Regions from separate parts of the Homo sapiens genome. Here regions 1, 2, 3 and 5 are each linked to region 4. The links are contacts of gene promoters, found by promoter capture Hi-C in blood cells and fetal thymus (Javierre and others, 2016). All regions are on one chromosome and are shown on one strand. Each heading gives the region's core, a stretch centred on a gene start or on the middle of the fragment in contact. The rest is flanking DNA. Distances are from core to core; before and after follow the strand shown. Region 1 overlaps SLC66A2 (solute carrier family 66 member 2). Region 2 has its middle 4.7 kb from the start of HSBP1L1. Region 3 overlaps TXNL4A (thioredoxin like 4A). Region 4 holds the start of NFATC1 (nuclear factor of activated T cells 1). Region 5 overlaps SLC66A2 (solute carrier family 66 member 2).

What was found. The method cuts DNA at HindIII sites, captures the fragments that hold promoters and counts their contacts. A CHiCAGO score of 5 or more calls a contact.
Region 1: a contact is called between a fragment that was not itself captured here and the fragment with the promoter of NFATC1 in region 4, in 1 of 17 cell types (monocytes). The highest score is 5.9, in monocytes.
Region 2: a contact is called between a fragment that was not itself captured here and the fragment with the promoter of NFATC1 in region 4, in 13 of 17 cell types (megakaryocytes, erythroblasts, activated CD4 T cells and 10 more). The highest score is 13.5, in megakaryocytes.
Region 3: a fragment that was not itself captured here is called in contact with the fragment with the promoter of NFATC1 in region 4 in 4 of 17 cell types (monocytes, erythroblasts, total CD8 T cells and 1 more); the score reaches 7.3 in monocytes.
Region 5: a fragment that was not itself captured here is called in contact with the fragment with the promoter of NFATC1 in region 4 in 1 of 17 cell types (monocytes); the score reaches 8.3 in monocytes.

Annotation. Positions count from the first base shown.
Region 1 is chr18:79,940,238-79,945,208 of GRCh38, forward strand. SLC66A2 (solute carrier family 66 member 2) reads right to left here. Exons shown (of 6, transcript NM_025078.5): 3 at 3,092-3,225. Among named protein-coding and RNA genes, the nearest start is that of SLC66A2, 8.9 kb to the right of the region's middle. RefSeq lists a silencer at 4,028-4,087. The HindIII fragment of the contact is 6,504 bases long and covers 251-4,971 here.
Region 2 is chr18:79,957,260-79,962,715 of GRCh38, forward strand. No RefSeq gene overlaps it. Among named protein-coding and RNA genes, the nearest start is that of HSBP1L1, 4.7 kb to the right of the region's middle. RefSeq lists enhancers at 471-1,069, 1,070-1,667, 2,793-3,477. The HindIII fragment of the contact is 2,361 bases long and covers 2,410-4,770 here.
Region 3 is chr18:79,974,510-79,979,453 of GRCh38, forward strand. TXNL4A (thioredoxin like 4A) reads right to left here. Exons shown (of 3, transcript NM_006701.5): 2 at 3,089-3,192. Among named protein-coding and RNA genes, the nearest start is that of TXNL4A, 12 kb to the right of the region's middle. The HindIII fragment of the contact is 1,363 bases long and covers 1,674-3,036 here.
Region 4 is chr18:79,394,296-79,399,505 of GRCh38, forward strand. It overlaps NFATC1 (nuclear factor of activated T cells 1), which reads left to right and starts at 1,635. Exons shown (of 10, transcript NM_001278669.2): 1 at 1,635-2,056. The coding sequence starts at 1,930. RefSeq lists silencers at 1-45, 1,471-1,870, 2,231-2,330 and enhancers at 266-385, 2,027-2,574. The HindIII fragment of the contact is 8,960 bases long and covers 1-5,210 here.
Region 5 is chr18:79,906,178-79,911,468 of GRCh38, forward strand. The region is part of intron 5 of SLC66A2 (solute carrier family 66 member 2); the gene reads right to left. Among named protein-coding and RNA genes, the nearest start is that of SLC66A2, 43 kb to the right of the region's middle. The HindIII fragment of the contact is 6,496 bases long and covers 794-5,291 here.

The DNA of each region.
Region 1 (4,971 bases), core at 2,253-4,752, 550 kb after region 4:
AGAGCAGGAGGAGGGAGAGGACCGGGAAAAATAACCAGTGGGTACTAGGCTTAATACCTGGGTGATGAAATAATCTGCACACTGGCCGGGCGCAGTGGGTCACGCCCGTAATGCCAGCACTTCGGGAGGCCAAGGTGGGTGGATCACTTGAGGTCAGGAGTTCAGGAGTTAGAGAAATAATCTGTACACTAAACCCCCGTGACAAACAATTTACCTATATAACAAACCTGCACATGTACCTGAACTTAAAAGCTTAAAAAAAAAAACAGAACATGTTCAGAGCCAACAACCTTCCCTTAAAGGTGACGCCGCTGACAGGAAGACAAGGCTGGCCACCTTGCTTGGCATGGGGCTGTGCTGCAGGAGCTACCGATCGGGCGGCCAGAAGCCAGAGCTTTCAGTCTGAACTCCAGTGATGTTCCTGCCTTGCCCTCCCCTCTCCTGGCAGATGAGAGGACATGAGCCCACACCTTTCATCAAGACGCCCTGCAGGAACAGGCCTGGCCCATCCACCAAGGGGACGTGGACATGTATAAACTCAAACCGGACTCCAATATTAAGAGTGCTGCAGAGGTAAATCTTGAGAATTCTTTAACACACACAGCTACACCCCAGGACACAGAGCTCAAGAGCGGATGTCCCACTTGAGGTCATTTGGGGCCCAGGAGTCATGCAGCTTGGTTCTCAGTCCTCCCCGGGGGAGGGCAGGCACAGGTCACCCAGGCTGACCCCAGGAGCCCGGCCCCCTACCCCTCGTGGCGGCCCTGGACTGCTTCCCAAATACTCCAGGCCTGAGGAAAGGGTGCCCCAGCTTCCTATCGCCTCCATAACAAGGTACCACAAACGTGGCAGCCACAATGCAGGCTGATTATCTTAATTCTGGAGGCCAGAGGCCCAGTGGTCTCCTGAACTAAAACCAAGGCTGTGTCTCCTACCCATTCAAGTACAGGCAGAACTCAGCTCCCCGTGGTCGGGGGCTCTGCTGCCTGTAAAGCGACGGCCGACCCATGGCAGAGAGCCAGGCCCTCAGCTCCAGCACCTGACCATCTCCTCTGCGGCCCTTGTTCACGTCTGAGGACCCCTGAGATTAGGTTACACCACAGGATAATCCAGGACCAGCCCCCTCAAGAGTCTCTCTGCCATGTACAGTGGCACGTCACAGGTTCCCAGGATCAGGGCACGGACGTCTCCAGGGGCCATTATTCTGTACACCCACAGAGGGTGTTTAAAATTCAGATTCCAGGCCTAGCTCTGGAAACTGGGACTCACATTTTTAACTCATCCTGGGTAACCAGAAGAGAAGTACTCCTTTGGAAGAAGTGACACAGAACGCCAGGCATCCACCATCCCACTCCCTTCTTATCCAACGGTCCTCTGAGACAAGCCTGAACCTGCACCTGCTGGTAAAATGAATGCAGGTGGGGAGCTTACGATGCCGCTTCTAGGGGTATCCCAGTGTTCCAACACACACTCACATTAAACCCCACGCTGGCTGCTCTGCCTGGACACTCACAACCTGCCGTCTCTGGGACCTCACATCAAGCCACTGCCCACTGCCAACAAGGTCACAAGGTCTGGCCTCATGTCCAGAGCCCGAGGACAGCAGAAACACCCAGCAACGCACTGGGCATCTTAGGCACAAATGTCCAGAGCCCGAGGACAGCAGAAACTCCCAGCAACGCACTGGGCATCTTAGGCACAAACCGTTCTCTCGGCCAGCCGGCCCTCCCACAGTGAGAACATTCTTGTTCCAAGTTAAATACTGAGGTTCAAAGGGGCAGGGAACATGCCATGAGGAGCTCAGGTCCAGAGAAGGAGCAAAGCCTTGCGGGGAGCAAGACCGAGTCACCTAAGCAGAAATGTAAAACCGCAGCTCCTCATGCGGGGAATCCGGCTGGTTCTTAAAAGCCTGCTTTCTAGGCAAGATCTGTGGTATCCTCAGTACCATCTCTGGTGTAATTTCAAACCCAAAACACAATAGAAGGGAACAGAGCAGAGACTCAGAGGAGAGGAGAATGGCGTGAATGGGGAGAAAGAACAGAACACCGCAGAAAAGACGCTGGAGCTCATCTCTGTGGCCCCAACGACACTAACTGGCCCAGGTCACACTGGCTGGAGGCTGGTCTGGTTTCTACAGAGGCTGAAAGCAGCACACAGTCACCTCAGTCTAGAAACAGAAGCAGACAAAAAGGCAGAGGTGGGAATCCTCTCCAACAGGACGAAGTAGCGGTCAGGAATAGAAACACAGGGACACAGCTCCCCGGCAAGAGCTCAAATCCACAGAAGCCCCAAACTTAACAAACTCTGGGAAGATACTCTTCTCCAAGTGATAGCTGAGATCACTCTCTCTCTCAAAGCCAAAGTGAGTGCTGTCTTAGATTTAGTAATTAGAAGAAAAACAAAAGGAAGGATTTAACCCTCCTGCACACAAGAAGCCCGCCAGCCTGCATGTTCAAACAGAGTTCAGACTGGAACAAACTGTGCAATAGGCAAAAACTGGAAGAAGTATTTTCTATTTTCTAAGCTGCCAAAGGTTAAGGAGCCATGTGTGCTAAGCATGTGATTGGTCCTGCCCAGCTGTCAACACTGCAGTGTGCTCCGCATAAAGGGGCTGCCTGACCCTGCGGGGGGACTCTGGGTCTGTTTAACAAGGTCTGTGAGGAAGACCCTGGCTAAGGTACCCCTGAGTCACAGCAGAACTGAAAGGGTGTGTTTTGTGTACAGGCCACGCACACAGACGAAACGCCTGACCTGGTACCGTCTGACCTGATGGGCCAGGCACAGATGAGCACTTCTTGTTCTGACACAGAAAGCGTCTGGGATGGCGCTCACAGCCAAGAGGAACCGTGAAGATGTGTTGAGGCCTCACCCAACTTCCAGTGAAGAAACTATTATCTTGAATTGCTTCAAGTCATAAACCGTTTAACTGAAGTCATTTAACATACTGAAAACACTATCAGCTGGAGATAACAGCACCACTTGGTGAAATGAAAGCTGCTTGGATCAGGACAGATTAGAGTGGCTTTTGTTTCACCAGAGTCACCTACGCCCTGATTCCCTGCGACTTTATTCCGAAGCGCCGGCCACCAACCTGTAAAGGAGCGGCGCCTGGCGTTGAGCTCGTTGGCCACACGGACCTCGGTGCACAGCTTCAGCATCAGCAGCATGGTCAGGATCATGATGGCGCTCTGCCACAGCAGCGGGGACTCAAAGCGCCTTCCAAACCTGCGGGAGAGACACTGTGTCAGGAGGGAGGTCCACCCATGCCACTTCTCCCAGTCCCGAACCTGCAGCGGGAGAGACCCGGGTCAGGAGGGAGGCCCACCCACGCCGCCCCTCCCAGTCCTGAACCTGCAGCCGGAGAGACCCTGTGTCAGGCCCACCCACATCGCCTCTCCCAGTCCCGAACCTGCAGCGGGAGACACCTGGGTCAGGAGGGAGGCCCACCCATGCCGCCTCTCCTGGTCCCAAACCTGCAGCAGGAAAGATCCTGTGTCAGGAGGGAGGCCCACCCATGCCGCCTCTCCTGGTCCCGAACTTGCAGCAGGAAAGATCCTGTGTCGGGAGGGAGGCCCGCCCATGCCGCCTCTCCCAATCCCGAACCTGCAGCGGGAGAGACCCGGGTCAGAAGGGAGGCCCACCCACGCCGCCTCACCCAGTCCTGAACCTGCAGCAGGAAAGACTGCCCACCCACTCCCCCTCTCCCAGGCCCCAAGCGGCATCCCGGGGAAGGAGCCCAGGAGTTGGCAAACACCACAGTGACCAGGCACCTGTTGCCCATCTCCCAGACTCCAGGTGGGGTAGGGCTCCGGGGAGGGGCCGTAAGACCCCCATACAGCCTGACTCAGAACCCTTCGGCACATTTGGCGCTCCCCAGAACCAGTGGCCCAGGCACTGGTACCCGGGTCTAGTGGCCCTGAGTCCCCTCCCACAGCTCAGCCCAGGTGCCCCAGGCCCTCCCTGCAGCCTCCGGGTTGCCACCAGGCAAAAAGCCCAGTTTCTAGCTCACAGCAGCCCTGCTTCCTGCCTGGGGAAGGCGGGGATAGTGTGCAGAGCAGCAGGTGGGCCAGATGCGAAATTTCCACATGCACACACACTCCCACAGAAGAGAAGACAGCCAAGGCTCTGCACCACCCCCGCCCCCACGCCTCCCTGGCCCCGAGCTCCTCTAGCTGCAGGCTCCCAGGCCTTCTTGCTGACTTTTGACCAGGGTTGAGCATCTCTTCAGCTCAGCTAGGAGCCTCTGCAGGGCAGAACCACAGGCCAATGACTGGCAGTCTCTGCCTCCCTGCGGTCTCTGCCTCCCCAGAGCCACCACAGAGCTGGGACACATGCCTGCAGAGCCACCACCTCCAAGGCTGGGCTGTGTGTGGCACGCACTCATAGAAAGCCCCAACCCCTGACTGTTCCAGCGCGGGAATCTCAATCAGCCTGCAGTTTGGCCTGAAGGGAATTTTCAAAACTTGAACTGGTCACCAACATGTCAAAGTCAGGAGATCCTACATAACAGCCTCATTTCCCAACTTCTGAAAAACTGGAAGACCTAGCAACAACCACCACAGCCCCCACCTCTCTCCAGCTCCCATGCAGCATCCCCTTAACACGAAGCAGAAGAAGGGGGAACCCCGCAGCCCCCTCAGCAACCCCTTATCGACTCAGAGCAGAAGCAGGGGGAACCCCACAGCCCCCTCAGCACCCCCTTATCAACACAGAGCAGAAGCAGGGGGAACCCCACAGCCCCCTCAGCACCCCCTTATCAACAGAACAGGAACAGGGGGAACCCCATAGCCCCCTCAGCACTGCCTTATCAACTCAGAGCAGGAACAAGGGGAACCCTATAGCCCCCTCAGCAGGTGAGCCAGCCCAGCAGGTAAGAAGGTTCCACTTGCAGGTGAGGCTCCCACAGCAACCAGGAAAAAGCCACAGACGTTCTCCTGGGAGGACAGGGAGCCAGGATGCAGTCCTCAGAGG
Region 2 (5,456 bases), core at 2,340-4,839, 560 kb after region 4:
CACCTAGAATTCCATATAGCAAAAGTATCCTTAAGGTGCAGGAAAAATAAAGACTTTTTCAGAAAAACAAAAACTGAGGGAATGTATTGCCGGTAGACCTGCCCTGTGAGAAATGTTAGAGAAGAGACAAGGAAGATGATACAGGTCAGAGGCTTAGATCTACATCAGGAAAGGAAAAGCATCAGAGGCAGAATAAATGAAGAGAATTAATGTCTCTTGTTTTTCTTTTTTTTCTTTCTTTTTTTTTTTTTTAAGACAGAGTTTTGCTCTTGTTGCCCAGGATGGAGTGCAATGGCGCAATCTCAGCTCACTGCAACCTCCACCTCCCAGGTTCAAGCAATTCTGCCTCAGCTTCCTGAGTAGCTTGGCTTACAAGGACATGCCACCATGCCCAGCTAATTTTTTTTTTTTTTTTTTTTTTTTGAGACAGAGTCTCGCTCTGTCACCCAGGCTGGAGTGCAGTGGTGCAATATCAGCTAACTGCAAGCTCCGCCTCCCGGGTTCACGCCATTCTCCTGCCTCAGCCTCTCAGGTGCTGGAACTACAGGCGCCCGCCACCGCGCCCGGCTAATTTTTTGTATTTTTAGTAGAGATGGGGTTTCACTGTGTTAGCCAGGATGGTCTCGATCTCCTGACCTCGTGACCTGCCCACCTTGGCCTCCCAAAGTGCTGGGATTACAGGCGTGAGCCACCGTGCCCGGCCTATAATTTTTTGTATTTTTAGTAGAGACCGGGTTTCGCCATGTTCGCCAGGCTGGTCTCGAACTCCTGTCCTCAGGTAATCAACCCATCTCAGTCTCGCAGAGTGCTGGGATTATACGCGTGAACCACCTCGTTATTCTTTTTTGTTTTTGAGGCGGAGTCTTGCTCTGTTGCCCAGGCTGGAGTGCAGTGGCGCGATCTCAGCTCACTGCAAGCTCCGCCTCCCGGGTTCAGGCCATTCTTCTGCCTCAGCCTTCCGAGTAGCTGGGACTACAGGCGCCCACCACCATGCCCAGCTAATCTTTTGTATTTTTATAGAGACGGGGTTTCACTGTGTTAGCCAGGATGGTCTTGATCTCCTGACCTCATGATCCGCCCGCCTCGGCCTACCAAAGTGCTGGGATTACAGGTGTGAGCCACCGCGCCCGGCCAACCTCGTTATTCTTAATTGATCTAAAGACAACTGTTAAAAGCCATAAAGTAACAATGTACTGGGTGATTACAGCTTGTGGACAAAATGTCACAAGGGACAGTGGGAGGAGCTGGGACTTTTCTGATGTAAAATACTTCCATTGTGCTGCCCTCCCTACCACGGGTCTAAAGCTATATTCCACAGCTTAAGCCACTTGGTCACACACTGAAACCCCTGGGCAGCTTTAAAACCACAAATGCTCAAGTGCCCGGGCCCACCCGCAGAGCACCGATAAAGGGGACTGTGCCAGTCAGGGTAGCCTTCTAAGCCTTCCCCAGAAGTTCTGATGTGCAGCCATATTTGAGAGCCACTGTTTTAAAATTCACACCTACAAAAGCTGCATGGTACAGGAGGTCCTCATTACCCACAATCATGACTTCTTGGAAAGACCACTTACTCAAACAGGACCAGAATTGCATAGTAAATAATTCATGGGATTAGAAAATAGTTGGTTGATATTGCATTAACAATGAAAATTAAACTTATGAAAATATTGCAATTATTTTAGAATAAGTAAAACAGAGCGGGCCAGGTGCGGTGGCTCACTCCTATAATCCCAAGACTTTGGGAGGCTCAGGTGGGTGGATCCCTTGAGCTCAGGAGTTCAAGACCAGCCTGGTCAACATAGTGAGACCCCCCATCTCTACTAAAAATACAAAAATTAGTGGGGTACATTGGTGTGCATCTGTAGTCCCAGCTACTCAGGGGTCTGAGGTGGGAGGATCACCTGAGCCCAGGAGGTCAAGGCTGCAGTGAGTCGTAATTCTGCCATTGCACTCCAGCCTGGGCAACAGAGCAAGACCCTGTCTCAAAAAAAGAAAGGAGCAACAGTCTCTACTCAGATCTGTATACCCAAATCTATACCCAAAAGAACTGCTTTTATATAATTTTTAAATAAAACTTTTCAAACACAAAAGAGCGTAACATAATGAAAGGCATGTATCCATCAACCAGCATCAATAATTATAAAATCGCTCTTTTAATGAGTATAAAATAAGAACTGAACTTAACGTTTAATTGGCAGCGTTTCTCCATTTCTGATAATAACAGTGCACCCTAAAATCAGCAGCGTCTTAGATTTAGGGCCTCAGAAACAAGGCCACCCACACTGGATCCGAGGGGCAACTGGGCACCTCCATGGACACCCATGCTTCATAAAGACAGCTGCACCCTACACTGGGTTGGACTGGGACGTTTTCAGCTATCCAAAATAAAACGTTGGTTTTCTAATTTAAAGCTTTGTTTCATGTCTACATTCTGCTCTTGTAGTCTGCATCTTCGCTCACGTAATTAGCTATTTCAGTCTTACCCAGACTGTTTTCTTCCCAATTGTCTGTCCTCACACCAGGGAAAGACTGGCTAATTTCTGTAACTTCAGAATACACATTAATATTCTTTAATATTTAGATTCCCATGGTCAATTATTCATCCTGGGCTAGTACTCGGCAGTTTCTCTTTTGTCAGTTCATGCGCCACCCAGGCAGCATATGCTGAGGAAGGCACAATTTCTACATTTATCCTAAGCCAAACATGAGCAGGAAAACTGAGAGCTATTCTAAACATAATTTTATCGGGTCAAAAAGAAACAACTGCTAGGCCGATCTGGCCGATGACTCCTCCAGTAGCTGTGAAATCGAGAATGCACATCATTTTCTTGCTGTGTTCCTAAGGTAGAGGAGACCACTTTGAAGACCCGCAGTCCATATTGGCATTGTAGAATTTGAGCAGAGGGCCATTTTGTTCTGTACTAAGAAAAATTCTTCTGCCTTGAGATGCTGCTAATCTGTAACCCTACCCCCAACCCTGTGCTCCCTGAAACACGTGCTGTGTCAACTCAGGGTTAAATGGATTAAGGGCTGTGCAGGATGTGCTTTGTTAAACAAATGCTTGAAGGCAGCTTGCTCGTTAAGAGTCATCACCACTCCCTAACCTCAAACCACTCCCTAATCTCAAGTACTCAGAGACACAAAACACTGCGGAAGGCTGCAGGGACCTCTGCCTGGGAAAGCCAGGTATTGTCCAAGGTTTCTCCCCATGTGATAGTCTGAAATATGGCCTCATGGGAAGGGAAAGACCTGACCGTCCCCCAGCCCGACACCCGTAAAGGGTCTTTGCTGAGAGGATTAGTAAAAGAGGAAAGAACGCCTCTTTGAGGTTGAGATAAGAGGAAGGCTTCTGTCTCCTGCTCGTCCCTGGGCAATGAAATGTCTCGGTGTAAAGCCAATTGTATATTCCATCTACTGAGATAGGGGAAAACCGCCTTAGGGATGGAGGTGGGACATGCTGGCAGCAATACTGCTCCTTAAGGCATTGAGATATTCGTGTATATGCACATCAAAAGCACAGCACTTTTTTCTTTACGTTGTTTATGATGCAGAGACATTTGTTCACGTTTTTACCTTCTGACCTTCTCTCCACTATTATCCTATTATCCTGCTGCCACGCCCGATAATGATCAATAAATACTAAGGGAACTCAGAGGCCGGTGCCAGTGTGGATCCGTATGCTGAACGCCGGTCCCCTGGGCCCCCTTTTTGTTTCTTTATACTTTGTGTCTCTTTCTTTTCCAAGTCTCTCGTTCCACCTAACAAGAAACATCCACAGGTGTGGAGGGGCAACCCACCCCTTCACTGTGTTGTCTCCATCAGATCCAGCTGAAGAGCTTTGCTCGAAAGCCAGTCCTTGGCCAGCATGGCCTCGTGCCTGTAAGTCCAGCGCTTTGGGGGGCCGAGGTGGGAGGATCACTTGAGCCCAGGAGTTTGAGACCAGCCCTGGCAACATATGGAGATCCCTGTCTCTAGAAAAATAATAAAAAATAGTAGCCGGGCATGGTGGCGTGCCTCTGTAGTCCCACCTACTCGGGAGGCTGAGGCAGGAGGATCCCTTGAGCCCAGTTCAAGGCTACAGTGAGCTATGATTGCACCACTGCACTCCAGCCTGGGTGACACAGCAAAACCCAATCCCAGAAAAAAGAAAGGCAGTCCTGTCATCTCCACAGACCACCCGGCCTATGTCGGTGAGGCCTGAGGCTGCTGTGTGCGGCGATGCTGGGTGGTCCTACTCGGGCTGCCCAAGAAGCCTGACCTGAAAAAGCAGCCAGGGCTGGAGGGACGGCCCAATATGAGCCTGGCCGATGCCGGCTGGAGAGGAGAGAGGCGTTCCCAGGTCAGAGGCAGGCTCGTCTCGTCTTCTGCAGGGCCAGTTCCAGGCTCGTGTGGGCCAGTGGGGCTCCCTGCTCGTTTAGCTGTCTGTGGTTAGGAACGCATAGCCCATGAGGACAGGGTGCCCAGCTTGAACCTGCACCCAGAGTCAGCCAGTCAACATCTGAAGATAACGGGTTCCACAGGGTGCCCACAAGCTCTCCAAAGTCCCAACGCCAGTCTGCCTTCACGGCTGTCCGAAGTGCTTTATCACTGGTGAGCTCAGTGCTGTCAAGAGCTCTGTGGCCCCTGCTCCGCCTGAGTAAGGGAGGAGCGGCAGCCAGGGAGCAGCCCCGCCCTGGAGACACCGAAAGCCCTTGGGTCTGCGCCTGCCCCCACCACGAGGGAGCCGTCCCCTGAAGCCATGAGCTTGATGCTGGGCTGTCCCTGGAGTAAAGCTTCCGGGAACTCCGTGCCTGCAGAGTAAGGGAAGAGGGGACGTTCTAGAACTTTCTGGAAGGGAGGAAGGAGGGCAGTCTGACTGGCTCCCTGCTCATTTAGCTGTCTGTGGTTAGGAAAGCTGCCTGTGGGCTGATGAGGAACCCTGTCGTGGCCCTGCCGTGGGGCACCACTGCCCATCTCCTCCCGCCTCCAGAGATGAGCGCCCTCTGAAGAGCTTGGAGGGCTGACGCCAGCCCGCTGTGTCTGCCTCCTCTCTACAGGCGTAATTTCCTTTTCCCCTAAGTTAGCTTGAGTGACTTCTGGTTCTTGACACTGAGGTGTGTTTCTGATGGAAACACCACCGGCTTGTACTCCTTGCCCCCCACGCCAGGCAGGCTTTCCTGGGTGCAGGCCGTCCACCCTGTACTGTGGCATCTTCTGGCCCTGCCTCCTCCTCCTCAGCAGCCACCCACACTGGCTTTCCCGAGAAGCCAGAAGCCGCCCGGCAGGATTCCTTAGGCCTGAATGGTCCTGGGAGTGGGCCGGGAGCCACAGCACAGCAGCCACTTTCCACCCACACCGCGTCTTTCTCAGCCGTCCACACTGGCCCCTACAACTAAGTTTGTATCTCAGCCTCTCTCAGAGACAGAAAAAAAGAGGAGGATGCTAAAAGCACACAAAAAGTGGCAAAATGGCCATGC
Region 3 (4,944 bases), core at 1,105-3,604, 580 kb after region 4:
TTCTTTTTGAGATGGGGTCTCACTGTCATCTAGGCTAGGGCATAGTGGCAAAATCAACCTCCTGGCCCAAATGATCCTCCCACCTCAGCCCTCTAAGTAACTGGGACCACAGGCACGAGCCACCACACCCAGATAAATTTCTAGTTTTTTGTAAAGATGGGGTGTCCCCATGTTGGCCAGGCTGGTCTCAAACTCATGGCCTCAAGTGATCCTCCCACCTCGGCCTCCCAAAGTGCTGGGATTACAAACGTGAGCCACTGTGCCGGCCTGATTATTTTTCTTAGAGATGCGAGCTATGTTGCTAAGGCCGGACTCAAACCCCTAGCTCCAGTCCCACCCCGGCCTGCAGAGTGGCTGGGCTGCAGGCATACCCCACCTAAAGACTGTTTTTTAACGTTCACTTCCACAAGATCATGCATTTGGCTTCCACCTACTATTCCGTAGAAAGTATTCCCCGTGAAGTCTCTGGTTCAGGAGAGGCAAATCTGATCAGGGTCTGGAGCCCACCTCTGGCCGCCCTCTCATTCTCCATGCTGCAGGCAGGCCCTACATGCAGCATGCACCAAGCTCCTTCTACAATGACTGGGGGCTGCCCGTAGCACCCTCCCTGCAGCCCTATCTGACCTGGGTGTACTTCTTCGGTATTTATATCTCATAAACATCTGCCTCCTTTCACTTCTTCAGAACCCCCTGCTAATTTACTCAGCTGTTTCTATCAGACAACGTCCTATGAGAGTGGGAATCCTGTCTTATCTGACATTAGGCTCCACCACTAGACCACAAACCTGGTGGGGGCTCAAGATATATGTTTGGTGCATAAGTTAACTAAAGTACCGTTTGTCTTAAAATTCTAAATCACAGAAACAGCAGAAGGAAGTTTCATCTCCTTTTCTGAGTACAGCATCAGTCCTAAAAATATCAAACTACACTAAGTAGGCTGCTCCCGCCACCCAAGGCTGTTGCCTGCAGCCTCCTTGCCCCTCACAGCATCTCCAGCCCCAGGCTGGCCTCCACTGCACGCTGTGGGGGGCAGAGACCTAAGACGGCCCTCCCTGTTCTCACCTGAAGAATTCTGAGGGGCAAAATAGAAAAGGCCTCTATTGCCTCGAACAGGCTGTTAACAGAAATATGGACTTCAGGAACACCTGGTGTGGGCTTGGAAGGAAGTGAGGAGTGTGTTACTGGGAAACGGAGAAAAGGGGACCCCCGTTACAGAGTGGCCGAGGAACAGGGACACGGGGTCCGCAGTTATAGGAAGTCAGAGCTCAAAAGCAACACACTCGGGATATTTAGCTGCGGAAACTTCCAAGCAAAGTCTCGGAGGTGCTGCCTTCAAGAGAGGAAAGAGGCAAATTAGTGTAAGAACTGTTAACAAAAGGAATAAATTCTTTAGCCTCTCCGGATGGCCAAAGGGGCTGAAATTCAGAAATGGCTGCTGAACACACAGTAGAGAAAAGGATGAGGGTCAGCCACGCAACCTTTGCTGAAACCTAGGAAAGATGAAAAGTTCACAAGAAATGCAGGGTGCACCTCACAGATCTTCTCAACCTAACAGGAGGCACCTAGGAAGCCAAGGGCGTGTCCAGGGGAGCGTATCCCGACGCCCAGAACCACGGCAGTGCCTCACGCTTTGGCAGCCTGAGGCGGGAGGATGGCTCGAAGCCAGGAGTTCAAGCTTGCTGTGATGGTGCCACTGCACTCCACCCTGGGTGAGAGTGAGACTCCATCTCAATAAATAAATAAAACAAGGTCACTATCCTGGATTATTTGGGCAAGTCTAATCTTATCACAGTCCTCTAAAACCAGAGCATTTTCTCAGGCAGAACTTTTCAGGTCAGAGAACCTGTGTGAAAAGTTCTCAATGTGCCGGCATGCCAGTGCTGGCTTTGAGGGTAACTGGGTCTCTGGCAGCAGAGTGGCCTCAGGTAACAGCAGCAAGGAAGCAGATCTCAGACCCACCACCACGAAGAGCCAGACTCGGCCCACAACCCAAACAAGCCCCTCAAACACTCCAGATAAGCACCCAGCCCATGGTTCAGACCTTGTGAGACCCTGAGCAGGAATCCAGCGGGCCCTGCCTGGATGTCTGACTTACAGAACTGTGAGCTCAGAAAAGCGGGGTGATTTAAGCTGCTCAATGCGTGCTAATTTGTTACAAAGAATACAAAACTAACGCATACCCTATACAACCCACCTGACCTTCCTTACCGAGTAGGAGGCTCCACTTTTGGAGAATGGTCTAATGCTCATGTAGCTAATTCACCAACCTCTATGGTAACTAAACAAGTAAAAACAGCATCAGATGGTGATTTCTTTCCCCATTAAATTTCCATAATGAAATTTTTGAGCTGATAAAATAATCTTGTATTTATAAGCAAAGTAGTTCAGGTGTTCCTCTTGGATATAAAAAAGGACACCGAAGTTGATGATAACATATTTAATAAATTAGGTTTTTGATTTTTTTTTTTGAGACGGAGTTTTGCTCTTGTTGCCTAGGCTGGAGTGCAATGGCATGATCTCGGCTAACTGCAACCTCCACCTCCTGGGTACAAGTGATTCTCCTGCCTCAGCCTCCCAGTAGCTGGGATTACAGGTATGCACCACCACGCCCGGCTAATTTTGTATTTTTAGTAGAGACTCGGTTTCACCATCTTAGCCCAGCTGGTCTCGAACTCCTGACCTTGTGATCCACCCACCTCGGCCTCCCAAAGTGCTGGGATTACAGGCGCTTTGAGCCACTGTGCCCGGCCTAAATTTGTGATTTTACAACATTTTTGATGAACAGATTATAGTTCCAGGTATCTAAAATGTCAGTAACAACATCTTTCATTGAATTACACTTCACCTAGGTTTCCCCGCAAAGTTATTTCAAAAGGGTAATTTGTTACTGAGTAAATGCTAAAACTAGAATTGTTACTTTGAAAATTATTTCAAAGATTCACACTGATTGCCTGGTGATACAAACGATTTTGGGACATGACTGTACAACCAACTTCCTTCAAAATAAAATAATCTAAAGAGATCTTGATTACATTAAGCTTCCAAACTGACAATATTCAATTTCAGTAACAACTTTAAGATAACGTACCTGAAGAAAAACATGACAGTACATGGATCGTATAACTCATACATTTTGTTGAAGTCAGGCACTTCTGTAATATCCACAAGATAAATAACTGCAAAATTTTTAACCTAAAAGGAGATTAAAAAAAAAAACTGAAATAACAGAACACTTTGGCTTTCATTTTATAGAAGCACATTTATAAAAACAAAACCAAGAATTTGTGTGGATCAGGGCAATTTTTGTTTTGTTTTTTTGAGACAGGGTCTCACTCTGTCATCCTAGAGTGCAATGGTGCAATCAGCTCACTGCAGCCTCGACCTCCCAGGCTCAAGCTATCCTCCCACCTCAGCCTCCCAAAGTGCTGGGATTATAGGAGTGAGCCATCACTCCTGGCCAACGGGGCAATTTTCAAACTAATTCTTCAACATTTTTTCCCAGTGCAGCAAACACGCGGGAAGATCATGTGACACTACTGGGACCTTGGCCACCGGCTCCTTCCGCCTCACGCCACCGTTTCCCAGAATAGTTCAGGAATTGGCCGCTGGCTCCTTCCGCCTCACTTTACCATCTCCCAGAATCGCCCAGGAATTAAATTTCACTCAGGTAACAAGTTATCAAAGTCCTGCAGAAAACGTCCACAGACATATTATTTATGCTGATCTAGTAATCATCTGTATGAACCTTTACAAATAGTTACATGCATCTCACAACTGCTCTAAAATATACCTGTAGAATCCTGCCATCATTTCCCCGCAATTAGGTCTGAACACTTGCAAATATTAATAGTACCTCCAATAATACTGCATATAACACATTTTCTGTTATTTTTTCTTTAATTGCAAGTTTATCAGAGATTTAGAAAAGTCAGAAAAATAAAAAGAAAATAAGATCACCTCCAATCCCAACACCTAGGGGTGACTGCTGCTATCTTTTTTCCAGAGACAGGATCTGGTTCTGCTGCCCAGGCTGGAGTGCAGTGGCAAGATCTTGGCTCACTGCAACCTCTGCCTCCTGGGCTCAAGCGATCCTCCCATCTCCGCCTCCCAAGCAGCCGGGACTACAGGCACGTACCATCACACCTGGCTAATTTTTGTATTTTTTGTAGAGACAGGGTTTTGCCATGTTGCCCAGGCTAGTCTTGAACTCCTGGACTCAAGTGATACGCCTGCCTTGGCCTCCCAAAGTGCTGCGATTACAGGCATGAGCCACCACGCCTGGCAATATTTTTACTATATTCTTTCCCCTTTCTTATAGATATATATTTTTTAATTTGTTCATATTATTTCTGTTCAGACATAGCAAAATATGGTCATATTGTGATCGTACTACAATATTTTGTATGCTGCTTTAATTTTGAGCATTCTTTTTTTTTTCTTTTTTTTGAGACGGAGTCTCGATCTGTCGCCTGGTCTGGAGTGCAGTTGCATGATCTTGGCTCACTGCAACCTCCACCTCCCAGGTTCAAGCTATTCTCCAGCCTCAAACTCTCGTGTAGCTGGGATTACAGGTGTGTGCCACCACGTCTGGCTAATTTTTGTATTTTTAGTAGAGACGAGGTTTCACCATATTGGCCAGGCTGATCTCGAACTCCTGACCTCAGGTGATCCACCCACCTCGGCCTCCCAAAGTGCTGGGATTACAGGCGTGAGCCACAGCGCCGGCCAATTAAGAGCATTCTTTTACATACATTACCTACTTTCCAAAAATGGCAAACTTCTATGGCTGCGTGATTCATCAAATGGCTATGCCATTACTTTACCATTTGATATAGTTTGGATATTTGTCCCTGCCCAAATCTCAGGTTGAAACGTAACTCCCAGCGTTGCAGGTGAGGCCTGGTGGGAGGCGACTGGATCATGGGATGAATTTCTCATCAATGG
Region 4 (5,210 bases), core at 385-2,884:
GGAGGTGGGGAGAAGGAGGGCGGGGCGGGGGGGACGGAAACTCTCCCCGCCAAATCCTGGCCCCAGGCCTGGGGACACTCGCGGCGGGAAGATTTGGAGGGGAGGGGAGGGGGAGGGGCGTGGGGGCGCGGCCTCGCTGGAGTCCCCCTGACCCCCCGACCCCCGCCCACCGGCCTGGGCGTCCTCCCGCGGCCCCTCCTCCCCTCCCGGCGCCCGGTGCTCTGGGGCGCGTGCCACGCCTGGCTCGGCGCCGTAGGGGCCCCCGCAGGTAGAGACCCCTGGAAATGGCCTCGACGCCGCAGGAGCGAGGCGGCCACCACCCCGCTAATCCGGGCACGTCTCTCCAGGCCGAGGCCTGCGGTGGAAAAGCCGGGGTTCCATTTGTGCTGAGTCGGGGCGGCCGAATGGAGCCAGGCCTCGGGACGCGGGACGGACGGGCTCTGGCCGCGCACCTTCGCGGGCTCTGCAGCGCCCGACCGCCTCCCCCGGCAGGGAGGAGGCGCTTGTGGGGGGCACCCACGGGGCACAGTGATCCCTGGGGGTCTGCGGACCTCCTGGGCCCCGCAGCAGACACGAGTTTAGCCTTTGGGTTTAGTTTAAATCACATAAGGGTGTCGTGCAATCGATTTATGGTTTCTACACACCAGACACTTTAACCTCCAACCCCCCCCATCCAAAGCCAACAAGAAAATGCGGTGCCGTGTTGGCAGCTGAGCTGCGCCCGAAGAGACGCAGGGAGACGTAAGAGAGGAAAGTGTGAGTGGCCGGGGGGCCTCCCCCCGTCAGAAGTCGCGCAGTCGCGCCCATAAAACGCCCCCTCCGGGCGGCTAGGGCAGGTGAGCGCGTCCCCGGGCCTCCCCACGCCGGCCCCTGCCACAGGCCGTCTAGGTCGAGCAGATATTTACAGAATAAAAATGACAATAACTCGACGTCCCGGGACGGCCACGCAATCTGTTAGTAATTTAGCGGGATGGGAATTTCCTTTCTAGGGCCTGCCAGTGAAGCGCTTTTCCAAATTTCCACAGCGGGGGAAGCCTGCGATTTTACATAATGACTTCAGCATGCCGGGCTTTCTCGACACCCCTCCCCGGCCCCCGGCCCCCGCCCCCCGCCCCTTTTCCAGCAGGGCCGGGCTCCCTCCGGACACCCGCGTGGACTCAGGCGTCCCGTCTGGCCCGTTCGCCCCCGTTTCCCCCGCCAGCCCCAGCGCCCCCCTGCCCGGCCCCCGGATTCCCCGTTCCCGCCCCTACGCCCCCATCCCCTCCCCGTGCGCCCCTCCCCGTGCGCCCCCCTCCCCGTGCGCCCCCCCTCCCCGTGCGCCCCCCTCCCCGTGCGCCCCCCCTCCCCGGGCGCCCCCCTCCCCGGGCGCCCCCCCTCCCCGTGCGCCCCCCCCTCCCCGTGCGCCCCCCCTCCCCGTGCGCGCCCCGCCTCTTGCGCCCCTGCCCCCAGGCGAGCGGCTGCCGCGGCGCGGGGAGGGGCGGGCGCTCGGCGACTCGTCCCCGGGGCCCCGCGCGGGCCCGGGCAGCAGGGGCGTGATGTCACGGCAGGGAGGGGGCGCGGGAGCCGCCGGGCCGGCGGGGAGGCGGGGGAGGTGTTTTCCAGCTTTAAAAAGGCAGGAGGCAGAGCGCGGCCCTGCGTCAGAGCGAGACTCAGAGGCTCCGAACTCGCCGGCGGAGTCGCCGCGCCAGATCCCAGCAGCAGGGCGCGGGCACCGGGGCGCGGGCAGGGCTCGGAGCCACCGCGCAGGTCCTAGGGCCGCGGCCGGGCCCCGCCACGCGCGCACACGCCCCTCGATGACTTTCCTCCGGGGCGCGCGGCGCTGAGCCCGGGGCGAGGGCTGTCTTCCCGGAGACCCGACCCCGGCAGCGCGGGGCGGCCGCTTCTCCTGTGCCTCCGCCCGCCGCTCCACTCCCCGCCGCCGCCGCGCGGATGCCAAGCACCAGCTTTCCAGTCCCTTCCAAGTTTCCACTTGGCCCTGCGGCTGCGGTCTTCGGGAGAGGAGAAACTTTGGGGCCCGCGCCGCGCGCCGGCGGCACCATGAAGTCAGCGGAGGAAGGTAAGCCCCGCGCGGCCTCCGCCCCCGGACCCCTGCGCCCCCCACGGCCCGGGCCGCGCCCCCCGACCCCGCCCCCGTCGCCCGCACGGAGGGGTCCGGGCCAGAGAACGAGGTCGGCCGGGTCTGTGCGCCCAGGGAGGGGCGCGGCGCGGACCGGGAACGGCGTCCCCCAGCTCCCAGCAGCCCGGTTCCGAGCGCGCCTTCTGCCAATAGGTGTCTCCTCTGCCCCAGCGCTGAGGGCGCGAGGCGAGGCCGCCGCGGGTCCCGCCGAGGAAGCGGCTCGCAGGCCGGCGATTTGGGGACGGGCGAGGCTGGGCCGTCAGGACCACAGAGGGCACGTGGGAGGGAGGAAGGGAGGCTTCCTTGGGAGTGAAGGATGCCCCGTGTCTTCCTGAGCGAGGCAGAGCCACCCTCTGGCGCCAAGATCGCGGTTTGGGGGTTCTGCGCCCCCCACCCCCACCCCGAGCTCGTGGCGGCGTCTCCCTCGCGCCGCGCCCCTGAATTCCCCAGGGCCGAGCCCGTCACGCCGGCTCCTGGACCTGCAGGACCAAAAGATCCAAAGCGCGGCCGCAGCACAGCCCCGAATTTAAGCCATTTTGAAATCCTATAGGCAGGAGTTCCAGCCAGAGAAGATGTTTCAGGCAAGTTTGAAAAGGAACCGCCAAGTTTCGAGCTGCTTCTTTATAGTGAAAAAAAGATGGCACAGTGTGGGTCCCTGAAACCCGGTGTGGGGGGCGCTGAGACCCCCCTGCGGCGCATCTCACATTCCAGTCCCCCACCTTAGCCCGTCCCCGGCACACACCCCTGGCGATGCCGGGTGGGCTCCTGCAAGTGGCTTTGAAAATACCCTTGCAGAGGTGTGAGCATACGAGTTAGGGATTAGGGATTGCAATGCTAATGGAAATTGGAAGACGCTTTTCCAAATTCCTTACCAGCTCTGAAATATTTTATATAATTTATTTAAAGAGCGCCAGCACACCTGCCAACATATGTACTTCATAAGGGCAGACGTCCTTCCGAGCGCTGCCGCTTCCTGCGCGACCCTGATAACTGCGGGGCTTGCTTGAGAACCGGGCTCCCCCAGCTCTGGAAAACTCGCTGGTCTTAGCAGAGCTGAGCACAGGGCCGTGAGCTCCACGGAGGGGGGTCCGTGTGGTCGGTGCCCTGACGCTTCACGGGACGGGAGGTAGACACCACTTCATCCCAATGTTAGAAAATGTTGACATGTTTAAACCATGTCCCGTGTCAGTGTTTTACACAATGTGCTCTTGCTAGTAGCAGAGTTTAAAAAATTTTTTTTTGTTGGAGTTTCGGTTTTAAATCCTGGGACACTTACGCCGCAGTGTTCATTATCACTCCCTTTAGAAAGGCAGGTCTTTCCAAGTTCAGATCTCTGTACCTGAAGAGCCGGTGGCCGACCTGTAGTAAGGAGCCCCTTTCTTTTACGCAAGGAAAAAACACGACGGGGCAGTGGCTAGTTTTCGTGTTTCCTACTGAAGAAAATAAGCTCGAAAAGGTCCCTGCTGCAAGGCAGTGCGCCGGGCAGCGACGCCCGACCGACATGGGTGTATTTTATGAGGGCTGCAGAACTGGGCCAGCCGGAAAGTGTGATCTAGTCCTTGATACACACAGGCCGGCAGCATGGGGACACGCGTGGTTTCCACACCAGCCATCGCTGAGACCACCGGGAAGAACTCTGAGTCCTTCTGAGTAGGCCCCACGAGGCCATTCCTGGCCCATCTGAGGACCTGGGCGCCTCCCCTGCGTCCCTCGGGTTTCGGGACCATCTGGGTGGAAGCTCATTAGGCGTCGTGGTTCCTGAAGGCCCCGGGCTTGCTTCCTCATGGAGAACGCAGAGAAGTACAGGCCTGTAAGTAGCCACCCAGTCAGAAGTCGCTCCAGACACAATGCCCCACGGGCTGGGGCCAAACAAAGCTCACCCTGTTCTCTGCCACTTAACTTCACAGCGTTGTTTCCCAGCTCAGATTAGAAAATGGCAGGGCGCTGGCACCCCGCTTCATCACACCCAGCGGGGCTTCTGTCTCCGCAGACATCCCCAGCCTCTGGGAGGATGCGTCCAAGCTAAACATTTCCATGGAGACACCCAGTGTCTGTGGAACGGGCAGCTTTGAATCTGGACCAATAGCTCTGAACCATTTGCAGGAAGGAAGCCCAGCACTGGGGCGGGGGAAGGGGGGGCTCCTAGGAGCAGCAGGGGAGCCGCCCCACCGACCCCTTCTCTGGGATGGAGACCAGTGCAGTCCTAGGACAGCAGCAGTGAGCCTCCATCCCTGCAGGGCCCGCGGCCTGGGGCCACCAGCAGGCGGGACAGTTTAGCAAAAAGTTTTAGTCTAAACAGATGATAAGGGCTGTCATTTGTGTATAATTTTATGGTGGGGGTAAAAAGGTGGCTGGAGTTTTAAAAACAATGTACAGGCCGGGCGCCGCGGCTCACGCCTGTAATCCCAGCACTTTGGGAGGCCGAGGCAAGCGGATCACGAGGTCAAGAGATCGAGACCATCCTGGTCAACATGGTGAAACCCCGTCTCTACTAAAACTACAAAAATTAGCTGAGAGTGGTGGCGGGTGCCTGTAGTCCCAGCTACTCTGGAGGCTGAGGCAGGAGAATCGCTTGAACTCGGAAGGCGGAGGTTGCAGTGAGCAGAGATTGCACCACTGCACTCCAGCCTGGGTGACAGAGCGAGACTCCGTCTCAAACAAACAAAAACCTGTACAATGGAAAGAGAATGAAACGTTGTGGCTTCTCAACAGAAAACAGAACTTCCACTTGCCCAAGGTCGGCAAAAGCAGCAAAACTACAACAAAACAACGCTCCAACATCCATCCCAAAGTCAGAAGTATTATTAGAAACTAAATCAGGCCACACGGAACGATGGCTTATCACTGGAGAAAACCAGCCAGTGAAAGGGTCGCGGGAGAAGCCCGGGGACGACCCTGGGACTGGAGGGTTTCTCGCCTCTGGAAAAGGCAGTGCCCGCGGGGCAGGCCAGAGGGAGCGCTCCGAGGAGCTTTGGGGTTGCCAGCCTTGACACGCGCACCCCTCCGCCCGGGCCGGCTCCCCTCCGCCCTCAGACTCCCACCATCCTCCTACTATTCCACATGTCGGGTGTATATGGTGCGGAGAGCCCGGGGG
Region 5 (5,291 bases), core at 2,792-5,291, 510 kb after region 4:
TTGTTCCAAAGAACCAGCTTTCAGTTTGGTTTTTTATGTTTGCTGCAGTTTTGTTTTCATTTTTGTTGCTTGGTGTTAGCTCCGTTATTTCCTTCCTTCTGCTGGCTTGGGGTTCCTTTGCATTTCATTTTATAGTTTCTTAAGCTTAGATTGATGATTTGAGAACTTTTTTCTAAAATCAGTATTTAATACTACACATTTAACTCTAAGCATTGCTTTAGTTGCATCCCACAAATTTTGATATGGTGGTGTATTTTTCAGTTCAAAATATTTTCAATAGTTTGCTTTGCAATATCCTCTTTAACAGATTGTTTAAAGGTGTGTTGTTTAGCTTCTAAACCTTTGGAGACTTAAGATCTATTTCTGCTATTAATTTCTAGCTTAATTATATTATATTCATAGAAAATACTTTGCACAATTTCAGTTCTTTTTTAAAAAAATTCTCATGACCCAGGATATGGTCTGTTTGGTGAATGCCCAACGGGCATCTGAAAAGAATGCGCACGTTCACTTGGCTGTTGATGGTGTTCAGATTTTCTACATCCTTGCTAACTTTGTCTGCTTTTTCTATCAGTTACTGAGGAAAGCTGGAGTCCCTAAGTGCAACTGGGGATTTGTCTTTGCATTTCTGTCAGTTCTGACCTTATGGACTTCCAGGCTCTGGGGTTCCATGCATACACACTCAGAACTGTTGTATCTTCTTGGTGAACTCACCAGTTTATCATGATGCAATGTCCTTTTTTATTCAAGGCAAATGTCCTTTACTTTGCCTGATATTAATACAGCGACTCCAAGCTTTCTTTGGTTCATATATGCATCTCTCACTGCATGGCCTCCTGGTCAATACATCCTGCACCCCAGCATCCGCCATGGATGTAATCAGACTTCAATTGAGTTTGCTGTAAACAGCAGGTAGCTGAGTCTTGTGTTTCTTTTTAAATTAATCTGAACATTGCTGTCCTTTAATTGGTATGATTAGGCCATTTACATTGAATGTTATTATTGACAGGTTTGAATTTAGATCGACCATTTTAATTTTTTTTGGTCTCAGCTTGTCCCTACGGTTTTATTCCTGCCTTCTTTTAGATTATTTGAAATTTTTAAAATATCCCATTTTAATTTATCTATTTGGTTTTTCACTGTATCTCTTTGTATAGTTTTTTTTTTTTTTGGTTGTTTTTTTTTTTTTTTTGAGAAGGAGTCTCGCTCTGTCACCCAGGCTGGAGTGCAGTGGCGCGATCTCAGCTCACTGCAAGCTCCGCCTCCCCAGTTTAAGCAATTCTTCTGCCTCAGTCTCCCAAGTAGCTGGGACTACAGGCGCCCGCCACCACACTCCGCTAATGTTTTGTATTTTAGTAGAGATGGGTTTCACCACGTGGCCCAGGCTGGTCTCAAACTCCTGAGCTCAGCCAATCCACCTACCTCGGTCTCCCAAAGTGCTAGGATTACAGGCGTGAGCCACCGTGTCAGGCCTGTATAGTTCTTTTAGTGCTCTAGGGCATTGGTTCCCAAATGGGAGTGATTATGACCCCATCCTCACACCCCTGCCCAAGGAAACATCTGGCAATTCCTGGAGACATTTTTAGTTGTCACAACTGGAGGAACACTGCTGGTATCTAGTGTGTAGGGGACCACGGATGCTGTTAAACATCCTATAATACCAAGATAGTCCCCCACAATAAGGGATTCTCCAGTTCAAAGTATCAATAGTGCTGCTGTTGAAAAATCTTATTCTAGGGACTATAATATATTTAACTTGTCAAAGTCTCCTTAGGATCAACATTTTATTACTTTAAGTGGAATGCAGAAGTCTTAGCACCAAGTTCACTATCGTCTCCCTCTTTTACATTGGACTTGTCACGTACAGCTACATTCACTAAAAACCCCACCAGACAATGTTATATTTTTTGCTAACTTTCACACATATTTTAAATAACTTAAGAAGAAAAATATATATATTATATTTACCCAGATATTGGCCATTTCTGTTGGTTTTCCTTCATTCCTGGAGTCCCAAGTTGCTCTCCTCCAGCGGAAGAACTTTTTTTAGTATTTCCTGTTGAGTAGCACTGCTGCCCATGACTTCGCTTTGTTTCCTTTCATTCGAGAAGGTCTTTATTTTGCCTTGATTCCTAAAGGAATTTTTTTTTTTTTCCTGAATATAGAATTCTGGGTCAAACGTTCTTTTCTTGCAGCATCTGAAAAATGTGCCACTTCCTTCTGACCTCCCTCGTTTCTGGTGAGAAACCCATAGTAATTTGGATCCTTTTCCTCTTAACTGCTTTCGACATTTTTTATTTGACTTTGATTCTTACCAGTTTGATTGTGATGTGATATGTTTGGGATTCACTGAACTTCTTACATCTATGTTTGTCTTTCACCAAATTTTGGGTGTTTTCAGCCCTTATTTCTTCAGCTATTTTTCCTCTGTGTCACACTCTCCTCTCCTCTGGGCTCAGATGACAGAATATTAGACCCTTTGGAATTTGTCCCTGACTCTATTCATGTTTTTGTTACTGTTTTTCAATTGCTTCCTGTTCAGAATGGACATTTTTTAATGATCTGCCTTCAACTTCACTATTTCCTCTCATCTCCATTCTACAGTTGTGTCGTGAAATATATTATTTAGATTATTGTATTTTTCAATTTAAAATTATCTATTTGGTTTTCTTTAAACTTCTATTTCTCTATGGAGATGTTCGGTCTTCCCGTTCATTCCAAGAACGTTTGCTCTTACCTGTTAGAGCACAGTTACAACAGTGACTTCAAAATCTTGGATAAGTCTGATCTGTCAGCCTGAGTTGGTTTCTATTGACTGTCATTTCCGTTGGCAGCTGAGAAACTCAACTCTTCATACATAACTTTGGTTTTTATCTTGGACATTCTGAACATTATGCAGTGAGATGTGAGTCTTCCATGGTCCTATCAACAGTGTTGCTTTTCCTGCTACCAAGCACTTCATGTGGTTAGATTCAGGGTGTGAGGTCTGACTTGTTTTTGGTGGACTGCAGTTCAATTTAATTCCATTTCAAAACCTCCCTTTTGATCTTTGGATCTGTCTTTCATGTGCAACACTCAGAGACAAGACTGGGACTTGAGCAGTCAACTGTCCACAATGACACTGAGTTCACAAAGCTGTTGGCATGTAGTTTAGGGCCAGATCTATGCATGTGTAGTTCAAGGGTGAGTCCAGAAACTTCACTACAGTGTCCCCAGTCTTCCTCACCACGATGTACCCAACCTTCCCCATCAGAGTACCACAGAGTCCTCAACCTTCCCCACAACCTCACCAGAGTCCCCAACCTTCCCCACAACCTCACCAGAGTCCCCAGCCTTCCCCACAACATCACCACAGAGTCCCCAACCTTCCCCACACCCTCACCAGAGTCCCCAGCCTTCCCCACCATCTCACCAGTCTCCAACCTTCCCCAGCATCTCACCACAGAGTCCGCAACCTTCCCCACATCCTCACCATAGAGTCCCCAACCTTCCCCACCATCTCACAACAGAGTCCCCAACCTTCCCCACCATCTCACAACAGAGTCCCCAACCTTCCCCACCACCTCACCAGAGTCCCCAACCTTCCCCACATCCTCACCATAGAGTCCCCAACCTTCCCCACCATCTCACAAGAGTCCCCAACCTTCCCCACCACCTCACCAGAGTCCCCAGGCTTCCCCACCATCTCACCACAGAGTCCCCAACCTTCCCCACACCCTCACCATAGAGTCCCCAACCTTCCCCACCATCTCACCACAGTCCCCAACCTTCCCCACAACCTCACCAGAGTCCCCAGCCTTCCCTACAACCTCACCAGAGTCCCCAGCCTTCCCCACACCCTCACCAGAGTCCCCAGACTTCCCCACACCCTCGCCAGAGTCCCCAGCCTTCCCCACCATCTCACCAGTCTCCAACCTTCCCCACACCCTCACCATAGAGTCCCCAACCTTCCCCACACCCTCACCAGAGTCCCCAACCTTCCCCACATCCTCACCATAGAGTCCCCAACCTTCCCCACATCCTCACCATAGAGTCCCCAACCTTCCCCACATCCTCACCATAGTCACCAACCTTCCCCACCATCTCACACCAGAGTCCCCAACCTTCCCCACCACCTCACCAGAGTCCCCAACCTTCCCCACCACCTCACCAGAGTCCCCAACCTTCCCCACCACCTCACCAGAGTCCCCAACCTTCCCCACCACCTCACCAGAGTCCCCAGGCTTCCCTACCATCTCACAACGGAGTCCCCAACCTTCCCCACACCCTCACCATAGAGTCCCCAACCTTCCCCACCATCTCACAACAGAGTCCCCAACCTTCCCCACCATCTCACAAGACTTTTTCTAGTTCACTCTCTTCTAAATTTGAGCATTTTTTTCGCATCACACATGAATGAACTAAGCTGTAATTTAAGGCAAGTTTAAGCTGTAATTTAACATTTTCTCATTCTAAAAGAGACCATATGAACCACACAAATCCTATATAAAGGACCAAAGACAGGTGTAAAATAGAGAAACGTGGCACCCCGGAGAATCTGCTGACTGTGTCTATTTTGCCCAGGGTTTCCCATATGGCTGGGCGTGTTCCAGTGTAGACGGAGGAGGCCAGGGCACGTTTGTTTTGGCTGCTTTGACAGACAACGTCCCTCCTCACACAGCGGCCACACAAGTTAACTGTGAACAACTTTCAAACTATCTTCAGTGAAACAGTCAAAGCAAGCAACCCAGACCTAGAGAGACAGCTTTTAGCTCCCACTGTAAAATCAGGTAAAGCCATGTGGTCTGCAACTTGGAATGCCCCTGGCTGCCAGGTGTGGCAGGGGAAGGGCTAAGAGGCTCACTGCAGCACCCACACCACGGCCTCAGGTGGGGACAAGTGGGAAGGTGATGCCTGAGCCCAGCCCCCAGGAAGGAAGAGCAGAGCCTGGAACAGCGTGGGCTGCTTTGCTGTCTGGAGGGAAATCGGGGGTCGGGGCCACTCCTGAGGCCCCAACCACACAGGCAGAGCCCAGGCCCATTCGGAGCCCACCCTAGGAGGGGGCTGGTTAGCCCTGAGGGGCCAGTGGGGGCCTGGACATCTTTCCGTCCCCTTCCCTGCTGACGCCTCCAACACACAGAACCCCAGGGAGCCAGGCAGGCCAGGAGGCAGGCGGCTGGCCCACGCCCCGTGAGGATTCCGCAGTGGCAGAGCTCAGGTCTGCACACACCAACAAAGACAGAGGGCTCCAGAGTTCCAGCCGGGACACAGCCCTGGTCAGACGGGGGCCGGCAGGACGTGCAGCTGAAGCC